Linked DNA regions of Homo sapiens: region 2 is linked to region 1. The links are contacts of gene promoters, found by promoter capture Hi-C in human tissues and cell types (Jung and others, 2019). All regions are on one chromosome and are shown on one strand. The core of a region is centred on a gene start or on the middle of the fragment in contact, and the rest is flanking DNA. Distances in the headings are between cores, read along the strand shown. Region 1 holds the start of NRG2 (neuregulin 2). Region 2 overlaps NRG2 (neuregulin 2).

Region 1 (6,657 bases), core at 25-2,524:
CTCAGGCCAGCACCGCCAGGACCTCTCCGTTTTTCCTTCCGCTACTGGGCTATGATGGCAGCTTTCCAGCCCCACATGCCATACATCAGCCGCAGATCCCCGCTGGCACAGGCCAGCGCCTCCCTCCGCCCCCCACCCCTGGCACACTTTGAGCCTGATCCTTCTTCTCTCCAACCCCAACCCCCTCACCCACCCGTGCCAGGCGCCCTGCCCAGGGGCGGCCCCACCCCCCCAGCGCCCGGACGCTGCCAGGCCCGGGCACCTGCAGCACCTCCCCGCCCCACCCCCATTCTCCACCACCTCGCCCCTCCCCCCTTTCTCCAGCAAAGGGAGGGGGCGACTCACCGCAGTCAGTGCACAGGATCTTGCCCACCTCTTTCTTGAGATTTTTGCCGTTGGTATCGAGGGGGGCAAAGGCCGTCTTAAAGACTAAGGGCTGTTCCGTGGGCTCCAGGAAAAAGATGTAGCGCTGGTTCCTTTCGAGCGGCACACAGGAGCCCACGCTGATCACCTGCTCGCGCTGCAGCCCCCCGCTCCGGAGCGGCCACTTGTCCAGCACCTTTACCAACGCCACCCGACCCGAGGCGGGCGGCTCTCGGGTGCTGTTGGAGCTGGAGCCGCCGGCTGGGACCAGCCCCTGTACCTTGCCCTCCACCACCACGGGTGCCTTGTACGCCTGGTCCTGCACTGACTTGAGGCTGGGCGAGTAGCAGGCGAGCGACACACCGAAGAGCAGCATGGAGAAGCCGGGGGCCGGGTCGCGCCTCATGCCGCCGGCGGCTGCGGCTCGCGAACGGGCGGCGGCTCTCCGGGCTGCGGGGCTGCGGGGCTGCGGCTGTTGCTGCGGCCGCGGCTCTGGGGGCGCAGCGGGACGAGAGATGCTGCTGTTGTTGCTGCTGCTCCTGCTGCTGCTGCCGCTCTCGCTGCTGCTGCTGCTGCTGCTGCTGCTCCTCTCGCTGCTGCTGCTGCTGCTGTCGCTGTAGCTGCTGCACCGACCCTTCTCCAGTGGCGGCGGCGGCAGCGCTGAGCAGCAAACCTGCCGCATCTGGCCAGGCCATTTGGGGGGCTCCGCCGCTCAGCCGCCGCCGCCTTGGGAGGGGAAACAGAGCCCGCTGGAAAACCGGAAACAGCGTAACGTTAGCGCCTCTTAGCCCTCCACCGGCAGCCCGGGGAGGTGGCCCAGCTAGGGCAGGGGGCAGGCGGCAAGCGGGCCGCGATGCGCAGCGCGGCGCAGCGCAGCGCTCCCACCCTGTGCGCCAGGACCTGGAGGAGGATGCGGAGGATGGGACGCCCGCCCACTTGCTCTCTCGCGCCCCCTCTGCCCCCGGACCGAGTAGGGAGCGCGGCTTCTGCAGGGGAAGCTTGGGACTGCACTGCTTTAGTGCCCGCCTTCAGCCCGCAGGGGCGCGGGAGGAATCGTGCCACCCTTTGCTCCCGGGATTTATCGGCATGACAGTGGGGGTGGTGCGTGAGGAGAAGGCGAAGAAGAGATAACGGGCTCCTGGCACCATCCTATGAACGTGGTAATGGGACGCAGGGCGTGCCCCCTGCCTTTGGCCAGCAGCTGTAGGAGCCAGAGAGGTTGCCATGGCCAGGGTGGCCGGCCAGCCTCTCGCCTCTTGGGCTGTCCTCTTTCCTAGGAGGACCCTGGAGCCCAGCCCCTAAATGATACCACGTGCTCGGTCCTGCCACCGCCTGGTGAACGCTGGATATTCGACTTGAGGTGGGGGAGAATCCCAGCCCCGTCATTTTGGAAAGAGTTGGGCCACAAGGTGTCTTGTCTTAGCATTGAGGACACCCAAGCAGAGGTGGTAGCTGAGAAAGGGCCCAGTCCCCAACACTCTGGGCTTTCTTCAGCGGCCACGTGGGGATCTGGCTGAGCACTGTACAACCTCATCTTTTAAAAATCTGATCTCTAAGAAAGGTGGGGGGCTTCTTGGGAGCCAACAGAGAGCCAGAGCCTGTCAGGGCCAGAGGCTGCTCCATAAAAAAGGTTTTTTTTGTTTTGTTTTGTTTTGTTTCCAAGGCTGATGCTTGCAAGAGGCAGAAGAGTTTGCTGCACTGGAGCCAGCATCTGATTTAAAACACACACACACACACACACACACACACACAGGTCCATAATCCATTAGCCTATCAATGAGGGTCCAGGGAGTTTTCAACACCCAGCTTTTAACCTTGAAGGATGTGGAGCTCAGGAATGCCAGTGAGCTCTTGGGGAATTTTATACCGCACTGGGCTCCACAGGAAACTGGTCCAAGGATGAGTGACTTAGGCTAGGACTGCTATTCTGGAAAGGAAGTAGAGAGAGCTACACCTTTCCTCCTAGCTAAGAGACATCTTAAACTCAATACATCCAAAGCCAACATCATTATTTCTTCCACTTCACTCCAAATCCCCTATAATTATTAATGCCACTGTTTTATTCTTTTAGACTACATCAATCCATTACAATAAGTCCCTTCATCTCATCTTTTATTCTTCCTCATCCAATTAATCACCAAGGCCTTTGGGTCTCTCTTTTAAAATAATCTCCAATTTATCTACTTCCACTCCAACTCTGCTGCAAATACCTTAAGTCCAAGCCCTCATCATCTCTCACCTGGACAACTTCTAAGCCTTCTAACTGGTCTCCACTCCTTTCACCTCATCACCTATCTCCAGTCCTACCAATGCCAGAGTGATCCTTCTAAAAATAAAATGTAAGTACAATTTGGCCATGCTACTGCTCTCAGAAGTTAAGTTCAAACTCCTCAGCAAGGCTCTTCATGGGCTCCCTTTGCCTAGCCAGCTTCATATCCTGAGAGCCAACCCCCCACTCTAGCAATCCTCAGCACTTCATGCTCTTTCTTGGTGTGCTTCTGCACATGATGTCTCTTGTGTCCAGAAAGCCTCACCTCCACCTTGACCACATGGAAAACTTATTTTCCCAAGGCCCAGCTCAGCATTATACCGCATCCCCCTTCCTACATATCCACCTCTACTCCCACCAACACATACATGATGGAATTAATCCCTTCCTCCTCTGTATTGCCATGAGCTTCACACATAGTATTACTGTTGGGATACTGGCCCATACCGTATTTCAAGCAGCCATTTAATGGGTCTGCATCTCCCATCAGGCCAGGCACGTTAATGTCAGGGACTATATATATCCTATTCATCTTTGGATTCCTATTACCTCCAACACAATGCCTGGCATAAAATAAGGATTAGCAAATCTCCAGTGAAAGAAGGAGAGAAGGAAGAAAATAACTGAAAATCGGCACGCTTAAAGGCATCAAGCCAATCTTCTTGGCTCCTTCAGTGTCCCCCATTTCATTTTCATAGATCACAGACCTCATAAATCACAAAACATCACCATAAGGAAGATAGCGACATCCACTCTTTCATTTTACAATGAAAGAAAAAGTCCCAGAGGGGATAGGGGACTTACTCAACATTTCACACAGCCAGGACTGAACTCAGTCTTCTGTTCCTGAGACCAGGGTCATAGTGAAGAGCTTGTGCTCTGGAGCCCAGCAGAGCTGGGTTTTAAAGCAACTCTGTGACTTACCAACTTTGGGATGAGTCTATTTCACTCTCTAGGCCTTAGTTTCCTTATCAGTATGAAGGAGAAAATAATAGGGTCTACTTCGTAAAGCTGTTTTTTGCTCAGTATGTACTTTCAATAAATATTCAATTGAATGGCTCCTCTGTGCCAAGCACTGAGGCACTGTATGTTACTGGATGTACTGTGGTGAACCAAACTGTTCAATAGTACATGTCTGTGCTCTCAAAGCTCATACTCTGACTGGGAAGACAACAGTAAATAAGTACACAAATGGGTAACTAATTACTTGTATTGCTGAGTGTCCTGAAGGAAATAAACAGGATGAAATGCTAGAGAATAATGGAAAGGGGAGAGGATAGGTCTACTTGGATAAGGGAAGGCTTCTCTGAGGAGATAACATTTAAGCTGAGACTAGAAGGATGATGAGGATGTGGATTATGTGAGATAATATGTAAAGTGCTTAGAACAATGTCTGGTGCACAGTAAGGGCCAAAATTAAAGTTGAAGATTACTAATATTTTACTTATACTGGTGGTTCCCAATCTAAGAGCTGAGAATCTCTAAGTGGTATTTATTTTCTGTATATTAAAAATATTCACTAGGATTTTCTGTATATTAAAAAATGCGGCTGGGTGCAGTGGCTCATGCCTGTAATCTTAGCACTTTGGTAGGCTGAGTGGGGTGGATCACTTGAGGTCAGGAGTTCAAGACTAACCTGGCCAACATGGTGAAACCCCATCTTTACTACTACCAAAAAAAAAATTAGCCAGGCGTGGTGGCGCTCCCCTATAATCCCAGCTACTTGGGAGGCTGACACAGGAGAAATGCTAGAACCCAGGAGGCAGAGGTTGCAGTGAGCCTCATGACACTACACTCCAGCCTGGGCAACAGAGCACTGTCTCAAAAAAAAAAAAAAAAAAAAGGCGATACAATTTTTCAACAGCACATGTCATGAAGAATAAAAATATTATTTTCCCCTCTCTCTCTTATTTTTTTTTTTTTGAGACAGAGTTTTGGTCTTGTTGCCCATGCTGGAGTGCAATGGTGTGATCTTGGCTCACTGCAACCTCCACCTCCCGGGTTCAAGTGATTATCCTGCCTCAGCCTCCCAAGTAGCTGGGATTACAGGTGCCTGCCACCACGCCTGGCTAATTTTTTGTATTTTTAGTAGAGACGGGGTTTCTCCATGTTGGTCAGGCTGGTCTTGAACTCCCGACCTCAGGTGATCTGCCTGCCTTGGCCTCCCAAAGTGCTGGGATTATAGGTGTGAGCCATTGAGCCCGGCCTCTTTTTTTTTTTTTTTTTTTTCTTTGAGACAGAGTCTCCGTCCCCTAGGCTGGAGTGCGGTGGTGTGATCTCAGCTCACTGCAACTTCTGCCTCCCAGGTTTAAGCAATTCTCCTGCCTCAGCCTCCCGAGTAGCTGGGACTACAGGCACGCACTACCACGCCTGGCTAATTTTTGTATTTTTAGTAGAGACTGGGTTTCGCCACGTTGGCCAGAGCAGCCTCGAACTCCTGACTTCAGGTGATCTGCCTGCCTCAGCCTCCCAAAGTGCCGGGATTACAGGCGTGAGCCACGACGCCCGGACTCTCTTTTTCTTTTGAGACACGATCTGGCTCTGTTGCCCAGGCTGGAGTGCAGTGGGGCCATCATGGCTCACTGCAGCCTCGACCTCCTGGGTTCAAGTGATCCTCCTAAGTAGCTGGGACTACGGGCACATGCCACCACACCCAGCTAGTTTTCTTTTCTTTTCTTTTCTTTTCTTTATTATTACTTTTTTTTTTTTTGGTAGAGATAGGGCCTTGCCCAGACTGGTCTCCAACTCCTGGGCTCAAGCAATCCTCCTGCCTTGGCCTCCCAAAGTGCTGGGATTACAGGTGTGAACCACCACACCTGCTCCCCACCTTTTTTTTTCAACATATCCATGTTAAAGTACAACAAAATATAACAAGATATTGCTAAGTGAAAAAAAGCAAGATGAAGAAGAGTGGTAAGATGCTACCATTTTGTCTTTTTTTAAGATGAAATATGTAAATGTTTGTAGTGCAAATTTACCTTTGAAAAGATACAGCAGAAGTTGAAACAATAGGAGGCTCTGGAGAAGGGCAGTGTGTGAATGAGGGATGGGGTGAAAGAAGGATATTTTCATGGTATTTCCTTTTGTACCTCGTGAATTTTATATCAAGTTCATGTACTAGCTATTCAAAAAAATTTTAAGAGGGGATCCTCTAATTTGTTAATGTTGCTGAATTTTTATCATGTGTTTTTCTCAAAGTCTACTTAAAGTAGAACTACTATTATATAGGATTCTATAAACAGAAAGAATATTCTATATAATGGGAACTACTATTATATGGGGTAAAACTCTTTTTACCTTAAAATGGGATTCTTATGCTAAAAAGCATAGGGAATTATTTTGCTATAATTATATCCTGTTCAGATAAACTTAGAATGCCGAGGTAAATTTTGAGACTCCAGCAGATTACCAGAATTCCTGCAGCCATAGAAAGTGGAGAGTTAGGCAGAGTTTTCTAAAGGGAAGAAAGGGCCAGGTGCAGTGGCTCATGCCTGTAATCCCAACTCTTAGGGAGACAGAGGTGGGAGGGTAGCTTGACCCCAGGAGTTCAAGACCTGCCTGGACAATATAGCGAGACCCCATTCTCCACAAAAAGGAAAAAAAAAAAAAGATAAAGGGGAGGAAGGTGCCTGTCCAGATTTCCTCAAGGTGTGATGTATGTGAGGATAAGCTTCCGAAATTGGCCTCAGCCATTTAGGGTATTTGGTTTCCTAGAAGGACAGCCCAATTTTATACTGGCTTTTTCCTGAAGTTCACAGTGAATTAGTATGTATGACTTAGAAAATAAGACCTAGTATTCCAAACCTGCTAACTCTGCACTGTAATTCAATAACTGACAATAAAAATAATAATAGGCATCATCTATTAATGGCTTGTTGTTGGAAGCTTTGTGTTTATTATTTCTGTGTCTTATCTACTTTGAATTTTTCAAATTGAAAATTCATAGTGGTTTAATAACTTGCCCAAATGACAGACACAGTTGAGACTGTAATCCAAGCTTGCTCATTGCCAAAGCACTTCCTCAC
Region 2 (7,438 bases), core at 3,490-5,989, 43 kb before region 1:
AAATAAGGGACATGTGACTCCACTGGACCTGTCCACCTACAGGTATTATGGGGCATTCCAACTCTCTTATTGAAAAAAAGGAGGGCTGGGCATGGTGGCTTACACCTGTAAGCCCAGTGCTTCGGGAGGCTGAGGAGGGAGGATCTACAGAGGCCAAGAGTTCAAGACCAACCTGGGCAATAGAGCAAGACTCTATTTCTACAAAATAAAAATAAAAATTAGCCATGCATGGTGGCATGTGCTTGTAGTCCTAGGTACTCAGGAGGCTGAAATAGGAGAATGGCTTGAGCCGAGAAATTTGAGGCTACCATGAGCTATGATCACACAACTGCACTCCAGCCTGGGTGACAGAGAAAGACCCTGTCTCTAAAAAAAGAAAAAAGAAAGAAAAGAAGGGAAAACATCAGAAAGTTATTTATTTATTTCATCCTCAAATGAATAAGCACAGAAGGTTATTTTATTTACAAGTTAATGCACATGTAGCAAAAATCAGAAAATGAGTAAGCAAAAAGATTTTAAGAAGCCATGTTTTGTTTGTTACTGTTAACAAATATAAATGGACTCATACTGTACATAGTACTTTGGAACCTGATTTTTTTCAATGAACAACCTATTGTGAATATTCTTTGATGTCAATAAATAAACTTCTGCAAAAATGATGTATGATGGCTACAAAATATTCCACAACATGGGGAATACGGGAGACCACAGTCTAGTTAACCGATGCCTCATCACTGGATACTTAAGTTGTTTCCAATCTTTGGCTATTATGAACAATACTATAATGAACATCTAGGAACAAAATAACCTTGTCCCCAGGATCCTTAAATTGTTGTCATTGTTGAATGTGCAATAAAGTCTTACCACAAAGAGAGATACCCATAAACCTGTTGTAAAGAAAACACGTATCTTCAGGGACCTGACTGAAATCTCATTTCTTCCAAGAAGGCTTCTCTTAACCAGATCCATCCAAAGTGCTTTCTCTCTCTCTCCCAAGTACTCTGATGCCCTGCTTAGCAGGCCTGCCCTTCACACCTGTCTAGTGTGGTCTTTGCCACATATGCCGCTTGTCTCTCCAAGTATACCGTAAGACCCTTGAAGGCAGAGATCCCATCAATTACCTCTTTTAGTCCCAAAATGATGGCACATGTAATTAGCTCTCAAATATTTGTTAAATTATTTCATTTAAAAGATTGAGGGGGTGGCCAGACGTGGTGGCTCACGCCTATAATCCCAGCACTCTGGGAAGCCGATGGGGGTGGGGGGCAGATTGCTTGAGTCCAGGAGTTCAAGACCAGCCTGGGCAACACAGTGAAACCCTGTCTCTACTAAAAATACAAAAAATTAGCAGGGCATGGTGGCACATGCCTGTAGTCCCAGCTACTCAGGAGGCTGAGGTGGGGGGATCACCTGAGCTTGGGAGGTCGAGGCCGTGGTGAGCCAAGATCGCACCACTGCACACCAGCCTGGGCAACCAGAATGAGATCCTGTGTCACCACAAAATAAATAAATAAAAAATGGAAATAAAAATAAAAGAAAAGCTTGAGGGGAACATGGAGGAGAACTCCTCCAATTTTAATTAAGATTTATGGGTAGTCACTGGGAATGAGGAACTAGAAAAAAACCCACCCTTCCTTTACCCACCCAGAGGCACTACTAAAGCTCAGCACTCTGCCTTTGACCCAGACTCATCTCTTTGGCCCTAAACAATCAAAATTCTGACTATAACTCAAAGAGCAGCAGAAATAACTGGAATAATCTTACGAAGACCATTTGATACATGGACTGCCAGTGCTGGCTCTAAGGGGTTAACTAGTAAGCTGCCTTTATCTTCAAACAGTACTTTACATGCTCTTTAGTGAAAGAGGGAAGAGCAAAGGTCAACAATACAGGTCTGCCCCCAAAGGTTAAGGGAAGACACCACTGTCTAATCCTAGACTGAGGACAGACATGGCAGAGCTGACTCTGCTGTATGGGGCATCATCTGGCAAATAGCAGAAATAGATAGAAACCAGCCCCCAGGGCCAAGGGCTCAGGAGTCAGTGAGGACACCCTCACTCAGCCCTCAATGGGCCCTAGAATGAAGCAAATTCCTGAGAACAGCCAGCATGTGAATCCTGCTTATCAAGAAGGTAGAACTTCCAAGCCTGCTGCCTACAAGCTGAGGTCTATCACAGATGGACATGGTTCCCCTCTCCATGGAGCCTGGAACTAAGAGAGGGCCATGGGCCGGGTTTCCCGCTGGGGAGGAGCCAGCTGCCCTGAGGATTGCCCCTCTAGGTAAATTAGGAAGCTTTTGTTAAACACTTGCTCTGGCTAGACCTGGGCTCAGAGGAGTGGGGTACGTGGGGCCTGGGTCCTCCCTTCACAGAGTTATAATCTGGCTAGGAGTCCAAAGTGAGAGATAGAACAAGGAACAAAAATACCCTGTTTCTACATTGGTGGCAAGGGGTGGGAGTGGAGGTGTGGAGTCAAAAGTCAAAGACTCTAGATTGGAAGTCAGGAGGCCTTGGTTCTAGCTCTCTCTGTTACCAGTGAAAAATGACACCACCTTGGGTAAACCACTTAACTTCTTTGGGCCTCTAGTTTCTACTCTGGAAAGATGAAAGACCAATGCCAATACTCCCCACAGAAGAGCAGGTCAGAATATTGTTCTGAACAAAACCCCAGAGGGCTGGAAAAGTGCTTCTATTATGTTCAACATTTGTATATCCAGACCAACCCAAGGCCAAGAAAGTCCTGGAGGGCCGGCCACGTGACCATCTCAGGTATACTCAGGAAGCCTGTGTTCCCATCTACTGGCAATCAACCCCAGACCAAAGCCACACAAGATCTGCTCCAGTTCCAAACTGGGACCCAATCTAGCCATGGGACTGCAGGTGAAGATAGCCTGCCTCACGCCTTCTACTGTTCTCATTCCCTCAAATTCTCCAAGTTTGGTCTCTACTAGTGATGTGGAAAGAAGTACAGAACTCTAGTCACCAAAAGTAGAGAATCTCAATGCTCAAGAGGCCCAATGCTTGCTCCTGACGAGTCTGAAAAAATTATGAGCTTAGAATTATGAGTCAGAATGTTGTAATTGGCTAAAAACAAACAAACAAACACTATCTACCATCCAAGGGCAAAGAACCATACTGTTACTTGAAATATGGGTAAGACTAGAGAATTATAGGAATAGGGGAAGATAGGAAGAGGAGTTAAGACAAGAGAAAAAACTTGCTCAAATCAGTGAAACCAAGAAGCCTTCTAAATTTCCTAGATTATAGCAGAAGACTCTGAATCCTACATCACAAGCCCCTTGCCCCACCACCTCTTTCAGCACAGCTGTCCTATGCGAGTTCAGATCCACTTCCTGCTTGAAAGTCACACCTCAAACACACAACCCTCTAGGGACTTCACTGTCCTAAGGACGAGGCTCAGCCAGTGGGGGACAGAAGCTAGCTGGAGTTCCTCATCCTTCAAGCAGACAACTCCATGAGGCATTCTGTGTCGTTCTCCTGAAGTTCTGGTGGAATTAAGTCCCCACTGCACACAGTAGGAACCTTAATAATACACCCTAATAACAGTTTATCCTCTATTCCTGCCTCATTCCCCTTATGCCGTTTCCTCATTCCTGCTTCTTGCAATTACCTCTCAAACTATCTGCACCCAATTCTTGTATTAGATTCTGCTTTCTGGTGAATCTGACCCAAAATATCAGTAGAGAATCTGGTGTTTACAAACTGGTTGGAGGTTCTATGGTGACTTAGCATATTTTTTCAAGGGATGCCAAGTTGCTCTGAAAAGTTTTCTCTGTAATGCACCAGGCTCCTCAATAATCCACCAGGTCCAGTTATTCAACTCAGTGGCAAACCTGGCCTGCATTGCCCTATCCAGCAAGCCTCATGGAATGAGAGAAGGGACCAGACGTTCTCTGTTCGTACCTGGTAGCACTTTGGAATCATTGTTCAAGAAGAATGATTATAGTACAGCTTCAGTCTCATTTTCCCCACTGTGCAGTGTCCCATGCTGAGCTCCTCCAAACATCGGTCCCTCCTGGAAGAACAGTCTTTACAAGGAGCATCCTTTCACTTTTGAAAGAGGAGAATCACAGGAGAGAAATCCAAGGAGAATGACAGGAGGGAAATTATCCAGACTACATGGGAAATATACTCTGGGTGAGAACATTTCAGTGCTGAGGGTGGGTGCCCCAATCTATACCCACCCAGAGGGAACCTGGGGATATCTGACATGCATATGTGCCACACACAAACAGACACATGCCCAGGGGAAAACAAGCAGGAAGAAACATCAAACTATTAGCCAGAGCTCTCGCTAAGTGATGGGATGATGGGTTATTTTTATTCTTTTCTTTATACGCTCATGCATTTTCTACAATGAATGTGTAATACTCTTAGGTTTTTAATTATAAAAAAACAACATTTGTCTCTTCTACACTATGATATCCACAGAGCCCTAAAAATGACCTATAAACGCCCACAGATTCAGTTAATGAGGTAATCTGGGACAACAGCAGAATCTAGATCTTGAGTCTGGAGGTTCTCAGACAAGATATGTGGAAACACAAAATATTATTATCAGGCATTCTCTCCCTTATAATTTGGTCTTTCAGAGGAAGTGAAGCACAGAACTGCGAGTCAATTGCCTACACACCTCTGTGCTTGAACTCTGGCATTTAGCAGTACCACCCCTCCCTTCCTCGAGCTTTTGCACTACCCTTCCAGCTTCCCCTGCCGCAGAGGCATGGAGGACCAGGCTTAGCACTCTAGCCACTCCAAGGACTTAGGCATCCTGCCAAAGAGGGAGAGGACTGAAGGGCAGCAGTCGGTGAGCCAGGGAGCCCCTGAACCAAGCCAGTTGTTAAGTAGGCGTGAGAACCCATCAGCTGGAAACACCGAAGGCGGGCAGGCAGGCGGAATGATTCTGGGTGAAGGAACATTGTAAATGTTGTCACCCAAAATAGAGCTGAGCTGAACTTGGCTCTCAGGCATTGCATGCCTCCTTCCTGCACTCTGTCGGCTCTCTTCGGAGCTCTCGAAAATGTTCCCCAGGCACCACACCTCCTCCTGCTGCAGCCAGGATTGGCTTGGTCTGCACTATTGCTCTGGAAGCTGAAGGCAGTGGGCAGAGGAGCGGCCATAGATTCCTATAGGAACTTCCTAACTGCTCTCCCTAGCTTCAATCCATTCTAATCCATCTCTGTCAACGTCAGATGTGATGGTTTCAATCCCCTCTTCAAAAACGTCAGTGGCTTCTTACCACCTACAGAATGACATCAAACTGTAACATAGGACTCAACGTCCTTCTCGATCTCTCTGTGACCTACTTTGATAGCCTCGTCTTCTGCCTTTTCTCCACCCTCACGCCCCATGTTCTAGCTACATCAGACCTCTCAGAGTTCCCTGGATTTTCCAGACCCAGTTCAGAAGAGACCTGTGACACGAAGCCTGCTGCTGCAGGCCCTGCTACTGGACTCCTCTCCCTCTGATCTCCCATCGGTATCCATACCATTTATTAGCACTTGGCTCATCCAGTCGGGTAGAGCTTGTTTTCCTTTGTGTCCTCATAACTAGCCTAAAAAAGCTTGAAAGAAGAAATCGTGTATGGCATATTTGTTTGTCCCTAGTACCTACCACGGTGCCCCATACTTAAGCGTATTTAATACATACCTACAGCTTATGGTAGTGATACCATTAGTTTTTTCACACATGGTTATCTCATTACCCTAACCAAATTATAAGCAATTTGAAAATACAGATCATGTCTTAATTTATTTTTTATCCTCCAAAACATATAGCATTGTACCTTATATGCCTCAGGAAGCAATTGATAAATATATAGCCCAATTATAAAAGCAGATATAATTCATTCTACAAATAATTATTGAGTACCTGCTATTTGCCAAGCACTATTCTAAATACTAGAGATGTGAGCTGGGCTTGGTGGCTCATGTGTGTAATCCTAACACTTTGGCAGGGCAAGGTGGGAGGATCGCTTGAGGCCAGGAGTTCAAGACCAGCCTGGGAAAAATAGCAAGACCCTATCTCCACCAAAAAAAAAAAAAAATGGCCAGACATAGTGCCATGTACCTGCAGTCCTAGCTACTTGGGAGGCTGAGGCTGTAGGATCGTGTAAGCCCAAGAGTTTGAGGCTGCAATGAGCTATGATCCCACCACTGCACTCCAACCTTGGTGACAGAGTAAGACCCTGTCTCTAAAATAAGTAAATTTTAAAAATTAAAATAATTAAGGAGGCCAGGCATAGTGGCTCATGCCTGTAATCCCAGCACTTTGGAAGGCTAAGGTGGGAGGGTTCCTTGAGCCCACGAGTTTGAGACCAGCCTGGGCAACATAGGGAGACCCCTGTCTCTACAAAAAATAAAAATATTCGCCGGGCATGGTGGCATGAGCCTGTGGTCCCAGCTACTCAGGAGGCTGAGGCAGGAGGGTCACTTGAGCCTGGGAGGTCAAGGCTACAGTGAGCCATGATCATGCCACTGTACTCCAGCCTGGGTGGCAGAGAAAGAACCTGTCTCAAAAAATAATAAAGTAAATAAATAAATATTAGAGCTGTGACAGGGGAAAAAAAGACAAAATTTTTTGTCCTCTTGAAGTCTCCAATTCTAGTGGAAAGAGGTAAACATCATTTATAAGAAAAGTTGGTAAAATATGATGTCAGATAATGATAAGAGCTGAGGTGAAAAATAAAACAGAGTAGGGTTGGGAGGGTTATGGGGTTGCAATTTTAGATAGGATAGCTGGGAAATCCTCCTTGAAAAGGCAGAATTTGAAGGGGTGAAAGAAGTAAGGAAATGAGCCACACGGATTTTTAGGTTAAGCATATTCCAAGTAGAGTGAACAATAAATACCAAAAGCTGGAGACAGGAACATGTCTGACAGGTTCAGAAAATAACAGTAAGGGCCAAGTCGGAGAAAGCAGGAGAACTGAAGGGAGAACGTAGGAGCCGGAGTCAGAGAGGTCACAGACCAAAACATGCAAGTGAGCCTTCAGTCATCAACTCTGGGTGAGAAAGAAAGCTCTCTGAGGTTTACAGCAGGAGAATCACACGAGTTTTTTTTATTTGTCAGTCAGACTGCTGTGTTCAGAATAGACCGAAGAGGGGCAAGGGTGGAAGCAGAGAGACCAATTTGAAGGCTATTAAAACAACTAGGCAAGAGATAATGGTGTCTTGGACCAAGTGGATAATTGGGGAGGTGATGAGAACTAGTTGGATTCTGGATGTATTCTGAAGGTAGAATGTACAGGATTTGTAAAAGGATTAGATGTGGAGTGAAAGAAGAGGAGAATCCCAGATGGCTCCAAGATTTTTGACCTGAATAACTGGTCTTAACATTTTTTGAACTGGGGAAGATTACAAGAGACATCCAGGCAACTTTTTTTCCCATCAACTGACAAATTCTCCTTTTCAGCTACAGTG

The links. The method cuts DNA at HindIII sites, captures the fragments that hold promoters and counts their contacts. A contact is called where the count stands out against the background at its distance.
Region 2: a fragment that was not itself captured here is called in contact with the fragment with the promoter of NRG2 in region 1 in 1 of the 25 tissues and cell types used here (heart right ventricle).

The regions. Positions count from the first base shown.
Region 1 is chr5:140,042,025-140,048,681 of GRCh38, forward strand. NRG2 (neuregulin 2) reads right to left here and starts at 1,275. Exons shown (of 10, transcript NM_004883.3): 1 at 346-1,275. The coding sequence starts at 1,045. RefSeq lists silencers at 708-917, 1,078-1,417 and an enhancer at 740-1,409. The HindIII fragment of the contact is 7,156 bases long and covers 1-3,831 here.
Region 2 is chr5:139,995,649-140,003,086 of GRCh38, forward strand. The region is part of intron 1 of NRG2 (neuregulin 2); the gene reads right to left. Among named protein-coding and RNA genes, the nearest start is that of NRG2, 44 kb to the right of the region's middle. The HindIII fragment of the contact is 5,645 bases long and covers 1,918-7,438 here.